Regions from separate parts of the Homo sapiens genome. Here region 2 is linked to region 1. Evidence: promoter capture Hi-C in 16 types of primary human blood cells and fetal thymus (Javierre and others, 2016). All regions are on one chromosome and are shown on one strand. The core of a region is centred on a gene start or on the middle of the fragment in contact, and the rest is flanking DNA. Distances in the headings are between cores, read along the strand shown.

What was found. The method cuts DNA at HindIII sites, captures the fragments that hold promoters and counts their contacts. A CHiCAGO score of 5 or more calls a contact.
Region 2: a contact is called between a fragment that was not itself captured here and the fragment with the promoter of ZNF266 in region 1, in 1 of 17 cell types (non-activated CD4 T cells). The highest score is 5.2, in non-activated CD4 T cells.

Annotation. Positions count from the first base shown.
Region 1 is chr19:9,432,156-9,438,156 of GRCh38, forward strand. It overlaps ZNF266 (zinc finger protein 266), which reads right to left and starts at 3,418. Exons shown (of 11, transcript NM_001370374.1): 1 at 3,129-3,418; 2 at 2,953-3,038; 3 at 2,643-2,704; 4 at 1,920-2,080; 5 at 1,513-1,631. It overlaps LOC105372269 (a long non-coding RNA gene), which reads left to right and starts at 3,486. Exons shown (of 3, transcript XR_007067133.1): 1 at 3,486-3,617. RefSeq lists an enhancer at 3,209-3,338. The HindIII fragment of the contact is 21,418 bases long and covers 1-3,722 here.
Region 2 is chr19:37,578,217-37,584,039 of GRCh38, forward strand. It overlaps ZNF571 (zinc finger protein 571), which reads right to left. Exons shown (of 4, transcript NM_016536.5): 3 at 5,755-5,823. The region is part of intron 5 of ZNF571-AS1 (ZNF571 antisense RNA 1); the gene reads left to right. It also overlaps a transcript of ZNF540 not described here and the pseudogene MTCO1P41. Among named protein-coding and RNA genes, the nearest start is that of ZNF571, 14 kb to the right of the region's middle. The HindIII fragment of the contact is 5,270 bases long and covers 1,811-5,823 here.

The sequences.
Region 1 (6,001 bases), core at 2,168-4,667:
ACCATGTTGGCCAGGCTGGCCTTCAACTCCTGACCTGAAGTGATCCACCCACCTTGGCCTCCCAAAGTGTTGGGATTACAGGCGTGAGCCACTGCACCTGGCTTACTTTTATCTTGATACACATAGTGTATACATTACTGTTGCTGTAGGGCATGTATGTGTATAAACCTAGTATGTACTGCCAACAGTTTTTGAAATTGGTTTGCCAATACACTCTCCAAAAAGCAGTATATGCACATCCTCAGCAACTTTATATCAGAATCCCCATCAATGATTTCACTACATGCGGCTAGTTCACTGGAACCCCTAAGTGCCAAACAGAGAAAATGTATAGAATTTAAGTCTTCACTTAAAGTCATCAGCAGGTTCTTGGAAACTGAGACTTTAAGCGAAATGACATACAACAAAGCGAATTTTTTCACATGCTAATTAATATAAGCGAGTTAAGCTCCTACAGCATATTTCTGGTCACAAAAACATCACTAAACTTCTAAATAAAGACCCCAAACACTTCTAATATTAAATATTGAAATAAATGTGAAATATATATACATTTAAGAAAGACTAATAAAAATAGGCTATTTATCCAATTTTTGATGAATTGGTATGTGATGGCAGTTAACAGTGGTGGGTTAAAACAAATAAATGCTTCCAAAGCAAAAACTCTAAGGACCACCTCCTACCACCAAGAAGCTCAAAAACAATAACAAATGGGGCCAGCTTGCTAAGTGGTACCATTTACTGTTGTACAGTTGTATCATTATCAAATGTTTTAGGAATTTTTATTTTACAATAGTTTGTATTCATTCATTCATTCTCCAATCCACCTATTCCAGTTCCAGAATGAAAATGGCCAGAGCCCATCCTAACAGCTCAGGGCACACACACACATAGTGGGACAATTTAGACACACCAATTAAGCTAACATGTGCATCTTTGGCATGTGGGAAGAAACCAGAGTACCCAGAGAAAACCCATGCAGACATGGGAAGAACGTGCAGAATCTACAGAGTGGCCCTACTGGAATTTGATTTTTTTTCCGTCATCGATGTTATAATTAACAGACATTATTCTAAGATCTGTTGTATTTCCAGGCCATGTGGCCCCTTCACAGCTTTTTGGCAGCCCACATTGGCAGGTGAGTTTTCTGGTCATTTACTTACATGGATTGTATCAAGCCAACCCCCTAGGTGTATGAGTGTCTATAAGGAGTCACGCAGAGTGCTTACTCTGGACATTCCTTCAGGGAAACGAAGGACTAATTTAGGTAGGAGAAGGAACCCAAAAGTGAATTGAAAAAAACAACGAGAGAAGTTTTGTCTGTTTATGAATATACATATTTCCTAAGACTAATAATTAACATCAGTGAATTTTCATGGAGAGCTTATTTTTCAGTGATCAAGCACTGATTCTCATTAATCCCTTGAATTAATTTCTTATTCATGTAATTAAAACACATTCATGCTTCTCCTATTTTCCCTTGATTTACATCATTTGTCAGATATCACTTACTTTGGCCAGGCACAGTGGCTTATACCTGTAATCCCAGCATTTTGGGAGGCCGAGGTGGGTGGATCACTTGAGGTCAGGAGTCTGAGACCAGACTGGCCAACATGCTGAAACCATCTCTACTAAAAAAAAAAAAAATACAAAAATACAAAAATTAGCCAGGCATGGTGGCGCACACTTGTAATCCCAGCTACTAGGGTGGCTGAGGCAGGAGGATGGCTTGAAAACCCAAGAGGTGGAGGTTACAGTGTTTCAGTGAGCCGAGATCCTGCCACTGCACTGGAGCCTGGCAACAGCGAAACTCTGTCTCCCAAAAGATATCACTTACTATTTCCTGTCATACATTTAAGATTAAATTATCCCACCACATTGTTTCCCCAACCAAAGAAAGAATACTGACTCTGTCAAACCTGGGAGTAATCTTTGATGCACTCCTCTCTCTCACCATAGAAGTGGAGTCAGCCAATTCACAGAATGCTTTGCCCAGCTCTTATTTCCTTCCCCTTCAGTATGGCTAAATCATACCATATTTTTGGTCTCAGCTTGCATATCACTCTTTTCTTAGCATTGCCTATTCCAAAGAAAAATAGAGAAAATAATTCTGTCCTCTACTTTACTTACAGACCTTCATCAATTTGTAATACACTTATTTGCTTGGTTACATGACAGCCTCCTCCACTAGTTTACAACCTCCCTAAGAACAGCCCTAGGCTGAATTTTTTTACTATGCCTTAATTAACCATTCAGACACTCATCCATTTACAGGATACACCAATAAATGAAGGATACATTTAAACACGGCACAGAATACAATCAGAACTACCAAAATGTATAACTTTCTGAAAGAACGAGTGACTGCGCAAAAAGACAATATAACGGATAAACAGTGTCTGCTAGTTTTAAAGAGACTAAAAGACATGAAACTTGGATACGTAATAGATCCCAAAACAATCAAAACCATATATTGGAACAAAGTGGAGAACTGTACCTTTTTACACAGGGTACATATTAACAACATTTTAAATTTTCTGGGGTAATAGTATTATGGTTTTAAAAGGACATGTCTTTATCCACAGGACACGTATTACCAAGCATTTAAACCTTAAGTGTCACGCCTGCAATGTTCAACTTACTTCAAAGCCTCCATTCCTTCTTCCTAAAAGCCCGTTTTGAAGCTCTGTGGGGAGGTACAGGCCTAGGAAGTTCAGATAAAAAGAATAGCTGAGTATTCTTGCTTTTCTTCAGTAGAAAGACTTCTGGTCTACAAACGTTTATATTCACATAGAGAAATAACCACACCCCAGATACCTAAAAAATAGCTTTATGTTTCTACCTGAATGTAGAGTGTCAAAAGTAAATACAGGATGCGCAAAGAGAAAAACAAATTCTCAGATAAAACAGGAGGAAGAAGCCCCCGAAACCAACTTTCACCCCAGTACTCACCGCGACGAGCTGGACTCGCCAGGTACGGGAGATTGGGGGGATGAAGGACCAGTCAACCTGATTCGAACGACGAAAACTCGTTGTTTCTGGAAAAAAAAAAGTCACAAAGAATTGCTTTGGAAGAGTTTGAAGCGGCAATCACCGTGTTTGCAAAAATCGTGAGGAAGCGCCCTTACGACAGATCCCGAAACGGCTCCTGGCCCAGGGCCGTCGCAGTGACAACTCGAGTGGCTTTTTGAACCTGGCGGCGCCAGGAGGACCCGCGCGGCCCCGGCGGACGCGAGCGGAGCAGGCAAGGTCTCTCTAAGGAGGCCCCTCGGCGGCCTGGGGCAAACCGGTACTTTCGCCACCCCTTCCACCGCTGGCTCCCACCCGTCATCCGACCTCGCCAAAGCTGTATTAAGCCCAAACGCCACCAGGAAGAAAACGGGTTTGGCGGCGCGGAGAAAGCGCCGGAAAACACAGCAGCGCTCCGTGACGTCACTTCCGCCTCCAGCCTCAAACCTGGAGGAGCGCTCGGGAACTGCAACCTCAGCCGAGCTGAACAACCTCAGGCAGAGAGATTCTGGTTTACTCCCCAGTGGCTACGGAGACGCCTTGGAGGCCTTGGAGTCTGCTCACCTTGAGGGATGGAGGCCAAAAGGGGCCCAGAGCACAAGGCTGAGGTTAGAACCAGCCCTGCGGACGGGGCTAACCTAGGGTGGGGTCGGTGGTGTTGGCAAAGTTAGAGGTGGGGGCTCCCCCACAGGATGTGCACAATGCTCACAAAAAGCTTTTATTCTCACCTCCTCCCACGTTCCTAGCACCCTCAAAATGATGCTTCCTTTGATAATCCTGCCAGTCCATGATATGGCCTATCTCCTCCATTCATTCAATCTAGTTTTAGTTTTTTATTTTGTTTTTGTTTGAGACAGGGTCTCACTGTGTAGTCCAGGCTGGCGTGCTGTGGGGCGAAACTCATGGGCTCACGCCATCATCCCGCCTCAGCCTCCCGAGTAGCTGGGTCTACAGGCGCAGGCCACCATGCCCGGCTAATTTTTTTTCCCCCAGAGTTGAGGTATGTTACCCAGGCTGATCTCAAACTCCTGGGCTCCAACAATCATCCCGCCTCAGCCTCCCAAAAGGCTGGGATTACAGGCGTGCACCACGGCGCCGGGCCCAATTCAACTTGAGGCCAATATTTCCCCTTATTTCATTTATCTGGACGCCATGCTAAATTCTAATAGTTGATTCCTTTGTGTATTCAATATGCTGATACTTTTTGTAAATGTTGATTTTTTTTTCTTTGACTAATATATTGTTTTCTGAGATCTTACAGTGAGTTCCAGGGCCTCGTTGTAAAATACCGCGTTGTAAAATAGCACTGATATCAGGCATTCACTTCTGCAGGAGTGATTCTAGTTTCTCCAGAAATCGTTTTTGCTGTGCTTTGTAGTGGGTGGCCTTTATGGAGTTAATAAAGTTATTTTGAACACTGTTTTACTAACATGAAGAACTGTTCATGTACATTATCAAATATTTTGTGAATCTACTGAACTGGTAACTATTTTGCAGTTAATTTTTCAACTCAAAAAGATTTTCTTTTTTAAGTTTCCTCTCTTGCATTAAGAAGTCTTCATAAACTCTAGATTACATATAGATTTCCTAATTTTCTTCTGCAGCATATTACTTTAAAAACATTGAAATCTTTCATACTCATGGAATGTGTTTCAGTATGTGGTGTGGGATAGTGGATACAATATCTCTTTCCTCCAGAAACACGGCCAATTATTGTAGTACCACATATTGATAAACTGTCCTTGATTTACTGATTTCAAATTCCATGTTTATTAAACTATAAATTCCTATGTATACCTGTATCTGATTCTAGACTCTATGCCAGTAATACATTTACTTATGCCAATATCAAGATCATAATCTTTTCATTCCAGTGGTTTTGTATCAACTAATAATATTCCGTGGTAATAATAATAATAATGGTAGCTTTTTTGTTTGTTTGTTTTTGAGACAGTCTTGCTCTGTCACCCAGGCTGGAATACAGTGGTACGATCTCGGCTCACTGCAACCTCCACCTCCTGAGTTCTAGGGATTCTCCTTTCTCAGTCTCCTGAGTAGCTGGGATTATAGGCACGCGCCACCACGCTCAGCTAATTTTTGTATTTTTTTTTTTTTTTTTTTTTAGTAGAGATGGGGTTTCGCCATGTTGGCCAGGGTGGTCTCAAACTCCTAACCTCAGGTGATCTGCCCACCTCAGCCTCTGAAAGTGCTGGTGTGAGCCACCGCACCTGGCGGTAGCTGTTTTTTAAATCTTACTACCCTAAATGCTTAATAGACATTAAATTTTTACGCTCCCAATGATGTGGCTATTATTGTGATTTTTCCCTTTTGGTTTTTAGACCAGCTGTATTGAGATACAATTCACATATAACCAACACAGTTCACCCACTTAAAGCTATATAATTCAATATTTTTTAGTACATTCGCAGTGTTGTTCAAACATAATTTTGGAACATTTTAATCACACTAAAAGAAATCTTTGAATGGGAAAACCCATTTACCTCCTCTTTAAGCTCCAGGGAACCACAAACCTACTTTATCACTACAGATTTTTCTTTTGTAGACATTTCATATGGATATACTCATACAATTTATTTTTATTTTTGTATAGACAGGGTCTCACTATGTTGCAAGGCTGATCTCGAACTCCTGGGCTTAAGTAGTCCTGCCTCGGCCTCCAAAAGTGCTGGGATTATAGGCGTGAGCCACCATGCCCGGCCTAAAAATCATACAATCTTTTGTGAATAACTTTTTTCACTTAGCCCGTTTTTCAAGGTTCATCTGTATTATAGCCTAGATCATTCTATTTTATTGCTGAATGATATTCCATTCTATGTATATACCATATATGATTTGTCTTCAGTTGATGGACATATGGTTTGTTTCCACTTTGGGGGTGTTGTGATTAATGCTGCTATGAAAATTCACATATATCTTTTTGTGCATACTGGCTTTTATTTTTTGAGAAATCACAGCTCACTGCAGCCTCTAC
Region 2 (5,823 bases), core at 3,196-5,695, about 28 Mb after region 1:
GGGATAGCGCTGGTCTAGAAGACCATGTCAGGATTTACCACGGACGCCAGGGAACTCACAGAGAACAGAGAGACAAGCCAGGCAGCCACCTTCCTGGGACTGGCATGGAGTGGGAGAAGCTCCCTAACATGGTGAAACGGTGAGAGAGTGAGAGTCCCTGGGGAAGCCACACTTCCCACATGGCCCTTTGCAATCCTGGGCACAGGAGGAACCCCCAACTCCCATCCCTGGGCCACTAGACCAACACAGAAAGCCACCTAGAGTTTTTGCAGAGGCACTGCTCAAGCCCATGTGGAGCACCACAAGCCCCGGATCCCTGAGCAGCTTGGTGCCAGCTGCCATAACCCCAGTGGAAGCCGCAGTCACAGTGCTGAGGGGCGGTCAGAATGCCCAGCCCCTCCTCGCCAGGAAAGGCTCGGCTTCACCCTGCCCCCGCCTGAGCTCCCCAGCACAGCGACCCTGTCCCCACCTGAACTCTGCAGGCAGGCACAGCTCCACATTCCCCCAGGAACCTCCCAGATAGCAGACCATGCAACCCCTGCCCTACCTCCTCTGAGGCGGCTAAGGCTCTTCCAGCGCAGCAACCGCACCTCTGCAGCAACCGCACCTCCGCCTAAACTCTGGTGGCCTGAGGTTCTGTGTTCCTCTGGGGCAGAACTCCCAGAGGTAACAGATAACACTTGGCACCTCTGTATGCCCTAAACAGTGAAGTTCGGCATTGTTTGGAAGGGAGGGAAGGGCAAGCGCGCCACGTGCTCCGCAGCTGTCAGTCTCCATTGCAGGAGTCCTGCTCCAGTGAAAGGCCCACAGCACAGCCGCCCTGCCCCCACCTGAACATTTCACCTGCAGCCCAGAGCCCTTCTGAAAATCCAAACCCCACATACCGTGATATTCCCTTGGGCTCCCACCACCTAAGTGTTCTGTAGGACCCTGCATGAGAGTTCGACCAGTGACCTGGAAACCAACCTGTCCCACCTCCCCACATCATAGCCAGCACCTGAACTCTGGGCTAGCCCGACTGCAGTCCAGCCCCTTCAGGTCTCACACAGGTTGTCCAGTGGGCCAGCTAGGGGCCTGGGGGGAACTGGGGAACTACTTGCCCCATTCCAACTCTGCTGGCGCCTGACCATTTCCCCCAGGGCCTGAGGTCAGACCAACCCAACCAGCTGACACCAGCACAACACCCATTCACACAGGCCCTGTGGAGGAAGCCCCTTCTACAGGAAGCAGCAGTACTGTGACATCGGAAAACAGGTGACCCTTAACCAATGGGGAAAGGATTCCCTATTCAATAAATGGTGCTGGGATAACTGGCTAGCCATATGCAGAAGAATGAAAGTGGACCCTACCTTTCACCGTATAAAATAACTTAAGATGGCCTGATCTAGTACATGCAGAAGCCTCTGAAGATCTTACCATTTTCTCATTACATTTTGCAGGTGTTTCATCAATTTTCAGAGCTACTAATTTTAATTTTATTACAGTTATAAAGCCACCAGCCATATCTAATACCAGACACCACTATTAATTGCAGCTGTGCTTTTATTACTCTCTCTCCCAGTACTAGCAACCAGCATCACCATACTACTGACAGACCATAACCTTAATATACTTTTTTTGATCCAGCTGGAGGAGGAGATCCAATTTTAGGCCAACATTTATTCTGATATTTTTGTCTATCCAAAAGTGTACATTCTTATTTTACCAGGTTTTGGAATAATCTCACATATTGCTACCTATTATTCTGGAAAAAAAAGAACCATTTGATTATATAGAAATAATATGACCCATAATATCAATTTAGCTCATAAGCTTTATCGTATGAGGCTATATTTACAGCACGGATAGACATTGATACCTGAATGTATTTTACACTAGCTACTATAATTATTGCTATTCCAACAGGAGTTAAAGTATTTAACTGACTAGCAACCCTACATGGAGGTAATACTAAATGATCTCCAGCTATATTATCAGGTTTAGGCTTTATTTTCCTGCTGACAGTTGGAGGCCTAACAGGAACTGTTCTAACTCATCAGCAGACATCAATCCTCATGATATATACTGTGCTACAGCACATTTCTAACATGTTCTATCAATAGCTGCAGTCTTCACCATCACAGGATTTATTCACTGATTCCCATATTTTCAGGTTATACACTCAACCTGAGCCAAAATCCATTTTGTATTTGTAGGTGTTAGCTTGACTTTCTTTCCACAACATTTTCTTGATTTATCAGGCATGCCATGACAATAACTACACTGATGGATATACAACATGAAATACCATCTGCTATGGTTTGGATGTGGTTTGTACCCACCAAATCTCATGTTGAAATTTAGTCCCCAGTATGGCGTCTTGGGGGATGGGGTTTAGTGGGAGGTGCTTGGGTCATGGGGGCTGGTCCCCGAGAACAGATTAATGCCCTCCCTCAAGGGTGACTGAGCTCTCGCTCTACTAGTTCTCAAGGGAGCTGGTTTTTAAAAAAGCCTGTCACCTTTCCCCTCTCACCATGTGATCTCTGCACACACTGGCTCCCCTTCACCTTCCATCATGAATGGAAGCAGCCTGAGGTCCTCACCAGAAGCCAAACAGACATAGGTGCCATGCTTCTTGTACAACCTGCAGAACCACGAGCCAAATAAACCTCTTGTCTGTATAAATTACCCAGCCTCAGGTATCCTTTATAGTAACACAGTATGAACTAAGACACCTATTACACTTGAATTAGTTCCACTATAACACTTTGAAAAGTGACCAGCATCTATGTTTAAATACCAAAACTAGAAACATCCACATAATTTTTTTCAATAATTCTAGCATTATTTACTTCAATTGAAATTTTTGAAATATGCCTATTCTTAAAATCCATCACCAAAGAACACTGAAGCCTTAAAACGTGAGACCCCCTTGGGAAAAAGACAAGCTAAAATTTATTCACATCTTTCACTATTCCTACAATAATAGGACAATTTATTTATATTCTAATCATTTCATTCCCAAACATCATGTTTCCTACCCCCAATTGCCAAATCCATAATAGATTAGTCTCTTTTTAATAATGATTAGCACAACTTGTACTAACATAATAATACATAATGTCAAAGGATGTTATTACCAATAACAGCAACACGTCTTAAAGCACACTTTCAAGCAACCGTCCTTTTTGACCACCACCACTGAAGTTACCAGATCATTTACCTTTATACCACCCCTCCAGCATTTTATCTCCATTTCTTTCTTTCTTTCTTTTTTTTTTTTTTTTGGAGACATGGTCTTGCTCTGTCGCCCAGGCTGAAATGCAGTGGCGTGATCATGGTTCACTGCAACCTCGACCTCGGGGCTCAAATGATCCTCCCAACTCAGTCTCCCAAGTAGCTAGGACCACAGGCATGTGACATAATGCCCTGCTAATTTTTATTTTAAGTAGAGATGGGGTTTTGCTATGTTGCCCAGGCTGGTCCTGAATTCCTGGGCTCAAGCAATTCACCCACCTCAGCCTCCCAAAGTACTGGGATTACAGGCTTGAGCCATTGTGCCCAGCCTACCACCATTTTAAAGATTCTCCTGTGAAAAAAAAACAAAAAACAAAAACCTCTCCTGATTCTGTGGTTCACCCTGCAGTGGACAGGAGCTGCAGGGTGAACCAGGAGAATGGCAAAACTTCTCAAGAGGTATGCATGCTTCCTGTCTATACCTTTTGCTTTTCTTTCTCTCCTACCACCATAATTAACATTTTGCCATATTTCCTTCCTAAATTTGTTCCATGGATTTTTATGTAGTTGAAATAATACTGCATATATAAACTCTAATCACACTTCTTTCCCCTAATTATTACAGTGTTCTTAAAACCTTCTAAAATATTGTAAACTCTATTTGTAACTTTGAGGGTTCCTCAAATGGGCCTTCAACAGTGCCTGGTGAGTTAATTCACTGTCCCACTCTAGTTTTTATTGTTGACTTACTTCTTTCTCACTCTCTTTTAAATACTCCACAATGAGGTTTTTGTTCCTCTCATTGCCAAACCCACCTTGTCAGGGTCACCAACACCCTTCATCCTGCCAAATCCAATAGCCAATTTTCAGCGTTCCTCTTACTTGAACTCCTAGCATTATCTCTCTCAGCTAACTGCTTCCTCCTTTTGTCAGTTGGCTTCCAATACACTGCATTCCCTCTTCCTAGGTCACAGGTTACTCAGGTTAGTCCTCAATTTCCTTTGCTAGATTGTTTTCCTGACTGAATGTTGGAACACCCCATGGTTCAGTCCTTGAGCTGTACCTTGCCTTCCGTCTAAACCAATTCGCTCCATAATCTCATTCAGTTCCTCGGTACAGAGAGTAATCCCATATTTATCTCTTCAGTCCTGACTATCCCCTCCACCCACAGGCTTCCAAATGCTTATCTAACTTCACCACACAGATATCTAATGAGCATATCAAATACGTAACTCTTGACTTCCTTCTCCAGCCTTCCAAACCCTGATGCCTCTATTGCCAATCTTCAAAATAACTCCATTATGAAGGTATTAATTCTACCTTCAAAATATAGCCTGTTCTCATCACCTCCACATATTAAACCCAATTCCAAGCCACTGTTATCTCTAGTGTGAACTTCTGAACTAGTCCTCTCATTAGTCTTCCTGCTTTCATTTTTATCCTCACTGTTCACATAGCACTCAGTGACCTCTAAACAAAGATCCTTTACTTGTCTGCAAAAAGTCAGCCAGGGGCTCCCTATCACACTTAGAATAAAATCTCACTGCTTGCAACAACCAACAAGGTCCTACATGATTTGACCTCTGCCTATTTCTCTAACCTCACCTCAAATTTCCACTTTCAGTAGCCACACTGGCCTTCTTGCTGATTCTCAAACAAGTGAAGCTCAGTTTCTCTCAGGATCTTCTCTTCCCTCTGCCTGAACACACCTTTCCCTGATTTACAGCCAACTTTATTCAGGTCTTAATTCAAATGTTACCTCCCCTGAGCTATCATTCCTGGTCCTCCTAACCTATGAACGTAGCAAGCTCTCAGTACGTATGTGCTGGCTAGAGATACTTATCCAAGTTTAACTATAAAAGAGCAACCAGGAAAAACGTAATTCAAAAAATAGATAAAAGCATTGTCCCCAAAAGAGATCAGACCAAAGGTAGCTCCCTTATTAAAACAAAAAGGGAATGTAAAACAGAAGAGTGGCAAATGGGAGTTGGGAGGGAGGTTCCACGGGGAACTCACACACATAACCTTCCTGCTCTCCCTATGTCTCAAGCCTTCTTTCCACAGGCCTTTGAAGAGAGCTTCAGGCACACACCTCAAAGTGCTGCCACCTACGGATCAGCTGTATTATTAGCAATAGCTGACACTGTGACCAGCCTTTATTCACCTGAGCTCTGTCTTTATGTCATGGTTCTCATCAGCATCCAGGGCTCCTTTCCTTGCTCCAGTAAGGAAAGTATATTTGGCTTAGGGACTGCACATACAGCTTAAAAGAAAGGAAATGGTGCATGGTCATGCTAGGGGATTCCCAGATTCAAATCTAGTCCATTGGCATCAAAGAAGGGAGACACTGACAGGAAGTGACAGAGAAAGATGTGACAGTCTAAAGGATAAGAGATAAAAAGGTACACGGTGGAGCTGTCCATTTCTACTTCTACTCAAACGTAAGCCTTTCCTTAGGGAATGGAGATCAGAAATTCACAATGAATGAGGCAGAAATTATGGGGAACAAATTCTGAATATTACGTAGGATGATCTTACCCAATGAGATCAGGTTGCTGTAGTTCTCCAACATCACATCCCTGTACAAGTCCCTCTGAGCAGGGTCCA